Linked DNA regions of Homo sapiens: region 1 is linked to region 2. The links are contacts of gene promoters, found by promoter capture Hi-C in blood cells and fetal thymus (Javierre and others, 2016). All regions are on one chromosome and are shown on one strand. Each heading gives the region's core, a stretch centred on a gene start or on the middle of the fragment in contact. The rest is flanking DNA. Distances are from core to core; before and after follow the strand shown. Region 1 has its middle 28 kb from the start of MCM3. Region 2 holds the start of PAQR8 (progestin and adipoQ receptor family member 8).

Region 1 (5,110 bases), core at 1,796-4,295, 50 kb after region 2:
CTGAGGCACGAGAATCGCTTGAACTTGGGAGAGGGAGGTTGCAATAAGCTGAGGTCATGCCACTGCACTCCATCCTTTATGACAGAGTGAGACTGTCTCAAATAAATAAATGAATGAATGAATAAATAAATAATCTCAACTATGAGTAACTGCAAGGATCTGCTAGTTGATCTCCCTGAACACTGTCTCTGTTCTCTGTCCAGTTCACCATCCACTCTGCAGTTAATCTCCCACTGCTTTTATGATGTCTCATCACTATCATCAATGGCTTCCCATTTCTGTTAGGACAGCTTTCAAGGCCCTCCACAATATGGCCTGAACCTACTTGTCTGATGTGGTCTTCTACCACCCGGGAGAGTGAATCAGGCAGCCAGGCCAGTGTTTCAACTGTTCCCAGACCAGCAATCCAGGCTCTTCCTCACGCTGTTGCCTCCAACTCAGCATGCCCAGCCTCCTCCTTTCCATCTATCCAGGTCCCAGCCATCCTTCCTCTCCATTGAAACTCTCCCAACCCCTCCCTTATATATCCATATCTTGCTTCTGATTTCCTTTTCATCCTAGGCATTTTCACATTGCTATTTAACTGCTTTAAGAGTGTGTGCCCTTCCTTTTTTGTTTATTAAACAAATGCTTAATGAACACTTACTGTCTGCCAGACGATGTGATCAGCACTTGATAGACAGCAGTGAACAAAACCAACCTTTTCTCTACCCTCATTCTACCCTTAAGTGAGGCAGGATAAACTGTAAATAAATAAGCAAGCGTAAAGTAATTCCAAATGCTAAGGGCTACAAAGGCAAAACCAAAAACATTTGGAAGCTATGAAAGAATAGCAGGTAGAACCTAAATTAGATGGGTTAGCGGGTGAAGGCAGGGTGTTGTCAGGGAAAGTCTCTAAGGGAGTGGCATTTATTTTTATTTTATTTTTATTTTTTTTGAGACAGAGTCTTGCTCTGTCGCCCAGACTGGAGTGCAGTGGCAAGATCTTGGCTCACTGCAACCTCCATCTCCCGGGTTCAAGCGATTCTCCTGCCTTAGCCTCCCACGTAGCTGGGACTACAGGCACCCGCCACCAGGCCTGGCTAATTTTTTTTTTTTTTTTGTATTTTTAGTAGAGACGGGGGTTTCACCATATTGGCCAGGTTCGTCTCGAACTCTTGACCTCGTGATCCGCCCACCTCGGCCTCCCAAAGTGCTGGGATTACAGGCATGAGCCACTGTGCCCAGTGGGAGTGACATTTAAAATGAAGAATGGATAGGAGTTAGGAAGTTGAGCAAATGGTAGCAGGAAAAGTATTCCAAGGAACAGCATCTGCAAAGGTCCTGGGGTAGGAAGGAAGAAACTCAGTGAATTTGAAGAACTGAAAGAAGCGAGGGGAGGCAAAGGAAAGTGGGGAAAGATAAAGCTGCTTCTTACCAACTAGACTTTGAACTCCTTAGGCCCAGGGCCCCCATTTTATCTTTTGTGAATCACCCCTCACTCCCACCCTAAGTACTGAACACAGTACTTAACACATGGTATAGCAATATGTTAAAGGATTTGACTACCTATTTAGTAGCATGATGCTACTAAATCATCAAGAATGATGTAAGAAATTAGAACAAAGCATAGAGTAAAACAATCAAGCAGAGCAGTTTTAAGACTCCAGTAGGTCCCAGGCATTTCTAATCTCAGAGGCTCTGCTACCCCCACATAGTACAAAATATATTGAACCCACATTTTACATCAAACACCACGTATATCACCACATAATTAGAGTAGAATTGAGTTGCAGTTAATTAATTTTCATCATGTTAAATTTATGGACATTTAAAGATACATATATTAATTTTGATTTTGCAAACTTTTTTTTTTAATGTCATTCTCCCCTCATCCCTGAAAGTCTCAGACATTTTTGTGGACCTAGAAAGAACTGTAGGTCCAGGAATACTCATTCTATTTTGTAGAATGAGATGTTGCCTGATTCCAGATTTGCCAATAAGAGCCAATTAAAAATAGAAGAAATGTAGGTCCTGAGCACTTTGCCTAATGGATACAAGGCCCAGCAATCAAGGGCTAAACTGGAAGGAATAAACAACAAATGCTAGAGCAATTCGGGGAGAGGAGGTATCAGTAAGGGCAGGAAAGCTTACGCGTCATATCTGTTAACCTGTTGATTTGCCTGGCCAAGAACTGCAGCTCCTAGGAAGCAGAGGAAGTAAGGGGACACTGTAGTCTGGGCATAACTTGGACCCCAAAGTTTCTCCAAGCAGAAACTAATGGGGTCAACTTGAAGGACTAGAAGCCTAGGTAAAAGTATCCATGCCTTCTTTCTTTTTTTCACTATGCCCCAGAACTGAGCAGACCTGTATCTTTTCAAAGTTTGGAGTACACAAGAATGGACACTGTCAGATGTTATGAAGGCAAATGTCAAACCATTCAGGGAAAAATCACAGATCTGATTACATGGCCTGAGACACTAAACAGGAGGATGTCTCCAGAGAATAAGAGAACTGTCAAAAACTGAACACTGAGGATACAATGAACAATGGGGAAGGCAGGAAATTGAGAGCTGGAGAGACCCATCAAGCTGAAATGCAAACTCATTAGTCAGCTCAGATTTGAAAAATGCCGCATTGAGAAAAGAGAATGTAGATGCAATGAAGGTGGCTTAGTCTGCTCAGGCTGTCATAACAAAATGCCATAGACTTTTCGATGGCTTAAGGCACAGAAATTTATTTCTTACAGTTCGGTAGGCTGGGAAGTCCAAGATCAAGGTGCTGGCAAGGCAGGTCTCATCCTGAGGCCTCTTCTCTTGGCTTGTAGGAGGCTGCCATTACTGTTTACTCACATGACCTCCTGTTTGTGTGCTGGGGCTATGGTGGAGTGAGCTCTCTGGTGCCTCTTCTTATGAGGGCACTGACTTCAGTGTGACAGTCCCGCTGTCAGACTTCATCTAATCCTAAGTACCTCCCAAAGGCCCCATCTCCATAGACCATCACATTGGGGATTAAAGTTCATTGCAACATATGAATTTTCAGTGGACACTATTTAGTGCATAGCAGAAGGATACACCTAAAAGACGGACACCTAAAAGAGGGACTTTCAGGACAGCTGACAAAATGGATAAAGCCAAGAATGAGCTGTTTGAGAAAAATAAGAATTTTTTTTTTAAAGGCCATGTAATATTGCAGAAAAGAGTAGGAGCATTGGTTACAGACAGACCTGGGCTGAATCCTGTTTATTAACTGTGTAGCCTTCGATAAGTTACTTAATATCTCTGAGCCTCAGTTTCCATAGCTGTAAAAGGAACATTAAAAACGTATCACAGGGTTGTTGTAAGGATTAATGAGATAAAGGGTTTAAAGTACTGGCACAGAGAAAAGGCCTTCTAAAGGTTTTGATGGGGGATGGAAGGTACAGGCATGTTGTTGAGGAGCGAATGGGATGGTGATAGGTGACAGGGAGAAGCTGGTTCATGCTGAAATGTGCTGGCTCATGAGTACCACTCTCGCTGAGCAGGAGGTAGGACTGGGTGACTTCTCTAGTGCTCTCCAACTCTGAAATCCCATTAATCCCCATATCTATGAGGAAGCAGATCTGTTCATCTCACCTGCTTTGTTGTTACTATCCATTCGTGCTCTGCATTTTTACAAATATTATCTTATTCAATCTTCACTACAACCTGAAACCTAATAGTAATAATAATAGCGATTATTATTCCCATCTTACAGATTAGCAAACTGAAGTTCAAAGAATTGGATAACCTAGCCCAAGATCAGACCTTTGGAGAATGAAAGAATCTGGATTTGCACCCGGAACTTACTGGCTTCCACCTCTAAACACCAGCTTCCCTGTTCCAACTTTTCTAAAGTTGAATGTTCTTCATACAAATATCAGCAGGAAGACATTGAGGCACAAAATAAATGGGGTATTGTATGAGAATGCCTAGCTTTCAATGAGCTTATGTCTCCAAGCTTGGACAAATTCCGGCTGGGGTACCAACAGAATTTATATATGAGAAGACTGTTGGCAGCTTTTCAGGGACTGTGGGGCCGGGGAGAGACGCCAGAAGACTGTGGCTGGGTACACACTATTCCATTTTGTGAAAAGGGGAAGAAGGTTGATTCTGCAAACCATAGATGCCAGAGTCCTGGGCAAAGTTCTTGAAGGGCATCCTATAAACATAAAAAAAGGGAAGTCATTGCTAGGCACCAACAAGTTTTCATTGAGAAGAGATTATTCCAAATGAACCTAACTTCCATTTCTCATAAGGTGAAAAATTGGTATGGCTTTATTTAGACAATACATTTTGCTCATTTTCATGAACCAGTTGAAAAATCTATTTTGTAAAAAAATTAATAAAAAATAATAAGACTGTTTCTATGAGAAATATAATTTTTTGGTTATTCATTTTAAAAATTTGATGTAATTACAGATTTACACATGCTTATAAGAAATAGTACAGAGGCCAGACACAGTGGCTTATGCCTGTAATCCCAGCACTTTGGGAGGCCGAGGTGGGAAGATCACAAGGTCAGGAGATCGAGACCAACCTGGCCAACATGATGAAACCCCGTCTCTACTAAATATAGAAAAATTAGCTGAGTGTGGTGGCATGCACCTGTAATCCCAGCTACCCAGGAGGCTGAGGCAGGAGAATCGCTTGAACCTGGGAGGCAGAAATTACAGTGAGTCAAGATCATTGTGCCATTGCACTCTAGCCTGGCAACAGAGCAAGACTTCGTCTCAAAAAAAAAAAAAAAAAAAGAAGTAATACAGCGAGCTCCCCTGTACACTTAGCTCAGTGTCCCTAGTGGTTACATTTTGTAAAACTGTAGTATGATAGTACCATCAGGATATTGGCATTGACACACTCACTGATGTTGTTCCAATTTCCCCAGTTTTACTTGTATTCGTGTGTGTGTGTGTATGTATTAAGTTTTATACAATTGTATCACTTATGTAGTGTTACCTATCCACTATTACAGTCAAGGTACTAAACAGCTCCAACTGAATAATCTTTCTTAATGGGGGAGATAGAACTTTAAACCTTGAAGGACAAAAGAGAGAAATAGTATTTTAGGTCAGAGAAGAGCAAAAAGAAAATCAGAGGCAGGGATGAATGTT
Region 2 (5,088 bases), core at 2,562-5,061:
TGGATGAAGGGAAAAAAATTAGAGAAGAGGCTTTTAAACTTTTTTCTTTCAGATTTGCCTTACCACACCAAACTGTTATACATAATATACAATCATAACAGGAATGCTCATTTAAAAAAAAAATCTGAATTCAAAAGAAAGTAACTGGGAGCACTGACTCCACTTATTTGGAGTCTGTATTTCCTCGTTTCTGAATAAATAAAAAATAACTAATTGTCGTTGCTTTTCAGGTTACCCTTTAAAAACTCTTAAAAGACCAGGAGGGCAAAAACCAAAATGTTCTATTTGTAGTTAGTTGCAAAACCTAACTGAAGGGAATATCATTACCTGGGAAATGATAAATTTCCACATGGCTTCAAAGGAATTTTAACATAAGACTATCAATAAATAATATTCCTAACAAGAATAAGTAGACTCTGTTGAGCACTCATGATGTGTCCGGCACCGAACTCAAGTGTTCTACACGCATCAATGTTATTTCATCTTCATCACAGCCCCATGAGGTACATACTCATTAATATCTTCATTTTAAGAAAACTGAGGCCAAAAGAGATGAAACAACTTGCCCCAAACCACAGCTAGATCAAGATTCAAGCTGTGGCTGTATGAAGCTTTATGCAACACAACCTGAAAAAAAAAATGCGAATTTTAAAAAGGGATATGTTCAGTACATTTTTTACTGTGTGCCATGAAATCCCAAAGTTGAAATGAATGTTCAGAAATCATTCTCTTCCCTTTACTTCTGTGGATCCTTTCACATCAAAAATCAAGCACCAGGCATTACCTACAGCTGGGGCAAATGGCTTTCTGGGTACCTTTTTTTTTTTGGTGAGACAACAAGTCTTTTGTATTTTTGTTTTGCTTTCTGTAAAAATCCACAATGACAGAGACTGCCTAGTAACAAGTATCAGGAGGGGCAAAGAAAGGCTTACTTTTTCTAGCCCAATAAGCCATAAGCTATAACAATAAAGTGACAGGACCAATTACTTTACATACATACCAGAGCATAAACACCAAAATGAAGGTTGTGCTTCAAAGTAGTTAAGTTTTTGAGGAGTTAAATGTTGTACTCAAAATTTCCACTGTGGAGATGATGGGAGCCCCTAACCCCGGTGTTATTCAGGGACCAACTGTAATTCCTTCCAATCCTAAATACATACTCCATGCCATTACTAAATGCCCCTTTTAGAACTGCCAGTCTTTCAAGAGAATTTTCATTACTTTAATGAGCATACTTATTGACAACCTCGATTCCCCACCTCGGAAGCCCAAGTTGGCCCCGCACAGTGCCTGGCTGTTTCCCAGCTGAGGAAGGTTTGCCACCACTGAGGCAATCAGGAAATGTGTTGCAAACTCGGAAGGCAACTCCAAAGCAGGAGCTCCAAAATTATTCTCAGTAGTGACAGCATCACTAGAATTAGTACACAGCTTGCCAAGAGCAGGCTTTTGAAGGGGAGAAATACTGATTTGAATGTATAAATACTGGCATATTTATTTTAACATTTGGATAAAGAATTGGAAGCATCAGCAAGTGTTACGTCCAAGTGAATAAGTACACTGCTGCAGGAATGATAGTGCAGATTTTGATGCAAGGTCCTGACCACTCAATAAGGTATACACACACCCTTAATGGAAATATGCTTATCCTGAAATGATTCTTGTAAAATGAATAAATCGCTTTCTATCCTGTTAACTTGCATAATTATTAAAGATTTCCTTTTCATGAATTAAAAACAGACCCAACAAATGCTAGTTGCCAAAATAATCCTTGTTTATCCAATGAAGCTCAAATCTCAGTGTGTGTCAGAAGATGGACCTATATGCACCAGAAGGAAATCTGGTGCATACACACACCCGCAAAAAAAAAAAAAAAAAAAACATATCTTTCAATGGATATATCCACTTAATAAGATTCCTCTACTCTGGGTCTTCCAGAATTGGTTGTTACGCCAAATAACTGAAATAATTACCATACATAATTAACAATACAAGATGGGTTAATGTAAGATAGTCAACATTTAACTAATAATTGAAGGACACGCACCCAAGGACAAACAGCAGAAATAAAAAACAAAAACAAAAACAAAGCCATGCCTTGGTCCTTTGTTTTTAGATACACACTTGGATACTCATCCACTGAGGTCCTAAGCAGTCTGGCTCCCTTCCAGTTGACCTGGTCAAGGGTGCAGCAGCTCAGGGCTGGGTACACGTTGTGGATAACCTTAACAGGGCAGTCAAGGGCAGTCTACCTTCCATGCAGGCAACTCCTATTAACTTCAGTAACAGGAGTCTTCACTGACAAGCAAATACTCCCAAACTGTACAATACTCTCATGTTTAACTCGACTGGAATGCAGTGCGTTTGTGGACATTGTTTGGTGTGTGTATTTGTTGTGGATTTTCCTCGTTTTTACCCAGAAACAGCTTCTCAGAGTACTGGAACAAGTAGTACACACGTGGGTCTAAAAATCACACATACAGTGTATTGTATGAGTTATCCCTAAGGCGCGCACACACACGGGTAGGTATTACCTGTACATTTGAAATCTCACTCCATAACTAATTTTTTTAGCCCAGGCTCTTCTCATTGGGTTCCTGGACAAAATCATTTCTAACCCAGCTAAGAAATATGGAATGCAACTTAGGTCAAGACAATGAGCCTGCCAAGGCTCCTGGACTTCCCACTAGTCTGCCAGTGCCTGGAGCACCCACAGCTGCACAGGAAGCTGCTGTGCCCGGCTACCTCCAGGTCCCCGCACCGGGTCGGCAAGGTGCAGCAGCCCCCAAACCCAGGCTCCGAATATTCCCCAAGCGCGCTGAGTGCGAGGTCCCCACCCGCCTCCGTCTGGGGATGCCCGGTCTTGCTCCCTAGACTAGATTCCCTCTCGAGTTATCTACGACCCTGTTCCACCGAGGGCGCTGCGTTCTCATAGCCTAGACAGACGTTCCCAGCGTTCCAGCCCCACCAGCCACCTCCGACACCCCACCGCGGCGTTCCCATCCAGCCAAGCCCCAGCATCCGCCCATTAGCCAGCTGCCGGCGGTTCCCATCACAACTCCGCTCCTCGCGCCCACCCTCTCAGAGAAGCCCCCTCCATCTTTCCCCGGCGAAAGCACATGCCTAGACCCACCCTACTCTTTCCGGGGTTCCCCTACCTCGGGCTGCCCTTCCTCGGGCTCTCCCTACCGCCCCGGGCTTCCTCTCCTCCGCACTCCCCTCCCAGGTTCCGTTCCCCTCCGCCCTGCGGAGGGCGCCCCACAAATGCGGACAGGACGCCCCTCGTTCTGCCCTGTCGGACTCCCCCACGTCTTGGTCCTGAATCTCCCGCCCTCCGGGCTCAGCCTTCCCAACATCGCGGTCCCCACACCCCCGCCAGCTCTCCAGGCTCAGGCTCCATGACTCCCCAGCATCGCAGTCCTGGCCACCCCACTACAGCCGTTCAGAGCTCCAGGGCTCCCCAGCATCCTAACCCGTCGTCCCCCCTTCCGGGCTTGGATTCGGAGACTCAACATCGGGGCCCTAAACTCCGGCCCCTGGCCTCAGGTTCCCAACGCTGCGACTCTGGACCTCCCCTCTGAGCTCGGGGTGCGAGGACTCCCCAACGCCGCGATCCTGACGTCCCCGCCTCCCGAGCTCGGGCCCCGGGGCTCCCCGACCTCGCGGTCCCAATACCCAACTCGACCCGTTCCGCGCCTCCCGCGGCGGGACTCACCGGCAGGGGCGGCGGCCGAGCCCGTGCGCGTAGCCCAGCCCGGCCCAGCCCGCGCTCCCGCCTCGGGGTCCCGGCCACGAGCTTCCCGCGGGTGGCTGTGACCGCGGCGGGCTCGGCTCGGGGGAGCGGCCGGGAGGAGGAGACCGCCGGGGGCGGGTGACGCCCAGCTCCGCCCCTTCCCGACCCGGGGGCGGGATGCGCAGACCCGCGCGCTCCGCTGCAGCCCGCGCCGCTGCCGCCGCTGCGAGGAAGTTGACTGACGCCGCTTCCTTCCACCCAGGACGCAGACCCTCGCAGTCCCTGGTAGCTGCAAAAAATCCGGAGAGTTTGAGACAGAGACGCCTTAACCGCCCTCATATTCTTTCCAAGAATTCACCTCTCAGGGGGCCATTTCCGAAGTCCCTCGGGAAGGGCGGAAAACAATAACAAACTTCATCTGCGCTGTCAAGACTGATTTAAATCCTGGCCTTTCTCTCACCACTCTCGGGTGAACGTTCAGGGTCATGCCCATGATATAAATAATGTGATGACATACCACGGAGGCCCTTGCAGACACTTCCACACCCCTAAGATACACCCGCCCAAGACTCGCGCCTCTCCCATGACTACATCACACAGACACATCTGACACTGACCTGCAGAAGATCCCACTTCTACCCTGTGTCCTCAATCCACAGCCTTCGTGGGTCCCAGCAATAGCGACCCACACATACAATCTATTGGAGGCAGGGTGCGGGGGTGGGTTCCACCTCCCGACTTGCTCCTCACCCACAATGTTCTCGGTATTTTACCATGAGAAAAAGACAGTTAAGAAGTTGGATGATCAATTAACAAATCAAGTTGGCTTTGCTTTTAAAAAGCCTTCTTCATTATCTGGAGAAAAGAGAAGGCCTGGGAAGATGGCCTGCTTACTGTAAGATTTTGTCAGACAGGCCTAATTCTGGTCTGCTTACTGTAAGATTTTCTCAGACGGCCTAATTCTGGTCTGCTTACTGTAAGATTTTCTCAGGCCTAATTCTGGTCTGCTGGTTCCCAAAACTTCTCTTATACCACCGTGTTTCAGTGACATGTTGCACAACATCTCACATTTGTACAATGTTTCCATTTTTCAAAACATTTTAGCCGAGTGTGATGGTTCACACCTGTAATCCCAGAACTTTGGGAAGCCAAAGTGGGCAGATTGCTTAAGCCCAGGAGTTCGAGACCAGCCTGGGTAACAAGGTGAGACCCTGTCTCTGCAAAAAATACAAAAATTAGATGGGCGTGGTGGCACACGCCTGTAGTCCCAGCTACTTATTCTCAGGCAAACATCACGAAGCAAAGAAAGTAATCTTAGCAGGATTATTTCAGTTCCATAAATGAAGACATTTAGACTC

The links. The method cuts DNA at HindIII sites, captures the fragments that hold promoters and counts their contacts. A CHiCAGO score of 5 or more calls a contact.
Region 1: a fragment that was not itself captured here is called in contact with the fragment with the promoter of PAQR8 in region 2 in 3 of 17 cell types (non-activated CD4 T cells, activated CD4 T cells and naive CD8 T cells); the score reaches 7.2 in non-activated CD4 T cells.

Annotation. Positions count from the first base shown.
Region 1 is chr6:52,310,054-52,315,163 of GRCh38, reverse strand. No RefSeq gene overlaps it. Among named protein-coding and RNA genes, the nearest start is that of MCM3, 28 kb to the right of the region's middle. RefSeq lists a silencer at 4,802-4,871. The HindIII fragment of the contact is 1,829 bases long and covers 2,131-3,959 here.
Region 2 is chr6:52,360,874-52,365,961 of GRCh38, reverse strand. It overlaps PAQR8 (progestin and adipoQ receptor family member 8), which reads right to left and starts at 3,811. Exons shown (of 2, transcript NM_133367.5): 1 at 3,713-3,811. RefSeq lists silencers at 3,559-4,048, 4,222-4,407. The HindIII fragment of the contact is 8,624 bases long and covers 614-5,088 here.